Regions from separate parts of the Homo sapiens genome. Here region 2 is linked to region 1. The links are contacts of gene promoters, found by promoter capture Hi-C in blood cells and fetal thymus (Javierre and others, 2016). All regions are on one chromosome and are shown on one strand. Each heading gives the region's core, a stretch centred on a gene start or on the middle of the fragment in contact. The rest is flanking DNA. Distances are from core to core; before and after follow the strand shown. Region 1 holds the start of ABL2 (ABL proto-oncogene 2, non-receptor tyrosine kinase). Region 2 overlaps SOAT1 (sterol O-acyltransferase 1).

What was found. Contacts are between HindIII fragments. The CHiCAGO score rates a contact against its expected background, and 5 or more counts as called.
Region 2: a fragment that was not itself captured here is called in contact with the fragment with the promoter of ABL2 in region 1 in 1 of 17 cell types (activated CD4 T cells); the score reaches 5.1 in activated CD4 T cells.

What each region holds. Positions count from the first base shown.
Region 1 is chr1:179,228,339-179,231,102 of GRCh38, forward strand. It overlaps ABL2 (ABL proto-oncogene 2, non-receptor tyrosine kinase), which reads right to left and starts at 1,339. Exons shown (of 12, transcript NM_007314.4): 1 at 903-1,339. The coding sequence starts at 1,059. RefSeq lists an enhancer at 633-1,389 and a silencer at 845-1,254. The HindIII fragment of the contact is 8,969 bases long and covers 1-2,764 here.
Region 2 is chr1:179,313,578-179,316,375 of GRCh38, forward strand. The region is part of intron 2 of SOAT1 (sterol O-acyltransferase 1); the gene reads left to right. Among named protein-coding and RNA genes, the nearest start is that of SOAT1, 21 kb to the left of the region's middle. The HindIII fragment of the contact is 1,919 bases long and covers 375-2,293 here.

The DNA of each region.
Region 1 (2,764 bases), core at 89-2,588:
TCTGTCTCAAAAAAAACAAAAACAAAAACAAAACAAAAAAACAAGACAAAAAAAGTTTGGAGACAACTATTCTAAAAATACATTGACAATGAGATCAAAATAATAGGTTTCAGACTACAGGGAGCATACATACATGTATGTATGTATATGGGCACACGCACACACTACAAAGGAAAACTTGTTCATATCCTGACTGACGTCCTAACCATGCCCACCAACCTCTAGCCCTTGCCAGCAATCTCAGAATTGTGTGTCCTACTCTGAAGCATAGTACAGAGGCTTTGGCAAAGCCTTTCATTTCTAGTAAAAACGAAATACAAAACAAAATAAACCACAAAAGCATGTCAAAAGTGATAAGATGATGCTAACTTCATCTTCCCTACAGAAAAGCATTTGACACTGTCCACAGTTCACTATCCTGACACTGCTCATCACCTAACGTAAACACATACCTTGTACTCCACAATCTCCTGAAATTCAGTTCCCATTTCCCAATCCCTTAGGATACAACCCATTTCCCCTTCACTAACGACGGGTTTATGCTCCCACCTCTGGGACTGAGCTAATACTGCCCTTCATCCTTCCCTCTCCTGAAGCTGCCATTCACTTTCTTTCTGCAGCCGCATAGTCCCGTCCCAGAGTAGAGGACAGACCATCCAGGGTCCCCAAACCCACTTCTCTTTCCTTCTCCGCCCCCGGGATCTGCCAGCCAGGCTAGAGACGCGAGGGGGGAGGGGTGTGACTCGCCTCCCAGGACTGGACCAGATGGCAGCGGATTCCGCCCCCACTCTCAGGCACCTTCCACCCTCCGACCCCTCGGGCAGCCCGTCCGCCACCCACCCCGCCCCGACCCCACCCCCGGCCTCCCCCACGCTCTCATGCCGGCTCCCAGACACACTCACCATGCTGGGTGAAGATATTGAAGCCGGTCTCTGTGGTGCGCCCCGCCGGGTCCCGCCTGCGGCCGGAGGGCCTGGCTGCACTGCTGCCCCGGATCCCGCGGGGCTGAGGCTGCTGGAGCCCCGGAGCTTCCCCGACGCGGCCCACCTGCTGCCCCATCCCTGCTCTCGCGTACTCCCGCGCCCCCGCCGACCCCTGGTCACATTCCTCCTCGGCTCCGGCCTCGGGCTCCTGGCGCTGCTCCGGTCTCTCCCTCCCAGCCCAGGCCCTGGCCCTGAGTGGCTGGGCCACCGGCGGCTCCGCACCCGGCCTCCTCACGGCAGCCGCCGCGCTGCCTCCAGGCGACTCACAGATTCTGCTTTTCCCTCCTCCTGTCGCGGCTCCGCGCCCCCAACGCCGCCGCCGCCGCCGCCGCCACCGCCGCCGCCATCTTTAAACCACCGAGCGCTGGGAAAGCGTGGGACAGAGCGTCTCCCGCCCCCCGCCCCCCGCCCCCCGCCCGCCAGTCACCTCCGCCGCGGGGAAGGAGGGCTTCCCGGCTGCCGCCCCGCCCTGCCGCGCCGCGCCCCCCGTCCCCGCCCCCGCCTCCTCGCAGGGTGGGTCCCCCAGTGCCCACCTCATTTGCCGGCCACCGCTGCTTGAGGTCTTTCGTCCTCCGCGTCCTGTCGCCGCACCTCGGCGTCCCCCCCCTCAATCCGCCTCAGCCGACCCCCTCCCGCGTTCGGCTCCACACGCTACCGCCTTTGGGGTTGGTCGGTCTCCGGCCTTCCCCATCCCACCTCCACCTGTCAAATGAGTGAGTCGAGGGCTCAGTGCCACCGCGTGCGCAGCTCAGGTGCAGGCACAGGTGGGGCAGAAAAGCACAAGGCATTTATTTGGTCCTTGCCATCCAGTTAAGGAGCTCTAAAATACCCAGGGGGATCTCTTTTAAACACCCTTGTCAGCAGCAGGCCTCCAGTAAAAATTAAAATGGTATAAAATTTACAAGAAGAGAGTAAAATGCTACCTTATTTGATTTTAATTTTTGGAGATTATTTCATGATGTTAAATCGCACTGGCCTGGATTGTGTGCCTTCTATAGTCTCATTGGGGACGCAATTGTAGCCCCATTCCTCATATTATATTACCATGAATTCCTCTTGAACTCCTTTACCATCTCACCATATGTGAGTTTCTGTTTCCTTACAATGCCTGACAGTAAAGTTAATCTTCCCACTGGCATCCTTTATACACTGTGCACGTGGTCAGGTCTTCTTTTGATGACAAAGGAGAAAAAATATATATCTTTGACCCTGTTTCTGAGTCAGAACTTACTCATTTTAGCTTATGCAGTCTAAAGAGAGTGAATGAGGCAGAAAAGAAGCGTTTTATACATACACATATACTATATACAATTGACTCGCCATCCCCCTCTCCCACTGTGTTTACTTGCATCTTAATTCAATTTTTTTTAATTCTCAAATCTTGATCATTCTCCTGTTATTCTTTTGGCTTCCCAATTTGCTTTATAAAAAGTATCAGTTAATGGAGGTACTACACTGAAATTTTGCTTAAATTAGACAGGACGGGAGCCACTGCAAAGAAGGAACAAAACAACCACTGGAAATGTAGGGTTGGGAGAAGAGGTGGATGAAGCTCTCCTTTGCATATCTTTCCTGAACCAGGTTGACCTTAGATGAACCATCCACTGACGTAGATATTGCCTGTTGTAAAAGCACTATGAAATTATTCCATTGCCATCTAGGGTGTAGCCAGAAATAACTGAAATTAACTCCAAAATGGGAACGGAAACACTATGTGTAAACACTGGATAAAATATGAACTTTCCATTTGGATTAAAGTTTCCCTGTGTTTAAAATACCTG
Region 2 (2,798 bases), core at 84-2,583, 85 kb after region 1:
ATATATGTATATATATATTTTTTTTAGACAGAGTTTTGCTTTTGTTGCCCAGGCTGGAGTGCAATGGTGCTATCTCTGCTCACCGCAACCTCCGCCTCCCAGGTCCAAGCGATTCTCTTGCCTCACCCTCCCAGGTAGCTGGGATTATAGGCATGCGCCACCACGCCTGGCTAATTTTGTATTTTTAGTAGAGACGGGGTTTCCCCATGTTGGTCAGGCTGGTCTCGAACTCCTGACCTCCGGTGATCTGCCTGCCTCGGCCTCCCAAAGTACTGGGATTACAGGTGTGAGCCACCGTGCCTGGCCACACATTGTATGTTTATAGGACGACACTGATCAGGAATGTAACTGGTGGCCTAGAAAGTAAGTAGATAAGCTTCCCTTAGGCCAAAGCCTATTAAATACAATATTGTCAAGAAAAGAGAGCATGGCATTAAGAGGCATCTGACTGAGCTTCAGGCCTCAGAAAAATCCAACAAGTCTTCATGCTTCATTCCTTTGCCTGGAATAATGTTTCTAGCATTTGTTCACCATAATTTTTCTTTATTATTTGAGACTCAGTTCAAATATTGACTCCTGCAAAAGCCTCCTACACCCCTCATTCTCCCACAGCGCTCCTCTGTATTGTCCTTTTCCCTATTTGTAGTTTTCTCCTGAGATCCTGAAGGGAGGGTTTGCCCTGCATGTATTGGGTCCTCAGTGGGCTTTTACTTAATGCATGAGTATATAAATTGAGTAAATTAGTTACCAATTTAACAAGCCTGGTTATTTGTCTCTTTTCTTCTGTGTAGCTTTGGCGGTAGATTGACTATAGTAATAGAAGTGTACGATTGTTAGGGAGAACCCTGTGGAAGCAGCCTAGGTAGAAAGGCACAGCTCCCCAGGACTGCTGAGTGGGGCCTGATTGCACTCCACATTTCCGTTTTTGCTAAAGATATCACTATAATAGTATGGTACAACAATGGATCTCTCTTACTTGTTCCGAAGATTATGTAGGGTAAAGTACATTTTTGTTTTATTTTTTTGTAGAGAATGGGGGGGTCTCACTTTGTTGCTCAGGCTGGTCTCAAACTCCTGGCTTCAAGTGACCCTCCTGTCTCAGCCTCACAAAGTGCTGGGATGATAATAGGCGTGAGCCAGCACGCCTGGAGTCTGGTGTTTTTTTTAGGGTAGCAAAGCATGTCATAATTTTACAAAAATTTTCATCAAAACTGGTTAAAATAAGATTTTTGACATGTCAAGGAATAAATTTTAAACATTCCCATTAAGTATAGCAGGTTTTAAAAGAGATAGCATTTATTCATGAAGATAAGTATTGCAAGCCTGATTTTTTTAGAAATCAGAAATTTAAGGGAAAAAATGTTGAATAGTTTTCCTTATGGACTTATGCGGGGTTCTATTAAGTTTCAGATAGCAAATAACTGACTCCTAGTGTTAGCAGTTAGTGTGTTACTAGAGGGAGGCAAATGATTCCGAAATTACATCACCCTCAGTCCTGGCTTATCATTGTTTCAGGGTCAGTGTTTTAGAAATTGAGAAGCCTTGAGTTGAGTGCTTGTAAATAGTTCTTCAAATCATTGGATGTGGGTGGGGATGGTGGCTCATCCTTGTAATCCCAACAGTTTCAGAGGCCAAGGCATGAGGATTGCTGGAGGCCAGGAGTTCAAGACCAGCCTGGGCAACATAGCGAGGCTCTGCCTTTACAAAAAAATTTTTTTTAATTAGGTGGGTGTGGTGGCATGTGAGTGTGGTGGCATGTGCCTGTAGTCCTAGGTACTTGGGAGGCTGAGGCGGGAGGATCCCTTGAGCCTAGGAGTTCCAGGCCACAGTGAGCTATGATCATGCCATAGCCACTGCCCCCTAGCCTGAGCAACAGAGTGAGAACCTGTCTTAAAAAAAAAAAAGCAGTGGATATTAGCTTTTAGGCATTCTTTTGACTTTGACATCTAATTTTTAAATTTTAAATTGTAGAAAGTTAAGAATTTCTTTGTAATATTGTATGAAGAGGTATTTTGAAGGTAAAGGAAAATGAATTAGCATTTTAAAATATATTTTTCTTCCACTTACTTAACTTTGTCATTTTCAGTGGGGTCTTCAGAGACTCTGTGAACAAATCTTTTTTCTAACTTTCCAGTGGCTGCATCTCAAAGCCTGTTTGTAATGATGGCTGTCGTGTTATTTATGGATAGACAGATTCTTTTTGGAAGGGATGCACAAGTAGTGAGAATTAATCTTTTACAGTCTCCTTACCAATCCTCCTCTCCCATGGTAGCTGAATTAGTTGAAGGAAAGAAGCTTTTGTCTTCATTTTTTTATGAAATAGTTCATTTATGAAACCATGGTCTGGTCATAGAACTAAATTAAAAATATATTCTTTAACTTATTGAAAAATCAAATGGACATTTGTCTTACCCTTATATTTCTTAATCAGTTACCAATTTGTAAATATCTTAAATTAATCCTCTGCTCTCCATTCTCCTTGCCATTTACAACATCACTTTTTGTCCGGATTTATTGCATTTCTCTGTTATGTGGTCCTTTCCATCTTCCAATATCAGCTCAGTATTTTCCTGCATAAAATTCTTAGTTTCCTCAAAGCCCTTGTTATTATATGACCTAGCCTTCTTCCCAGTCATCAATTCTGCCATTATCGATAATTGAAGACATTCCACTGTCTCCTGGCTTCCATTGATGTTAAGTCAGGTATGCGTTGTAATTGCAGTACTTGCGTAGTTGATATTCTTTCTGGGTGCTTTTAGTTTTTTTTTTTAACCCCTGCGTCAGACAGTTTCACTGTG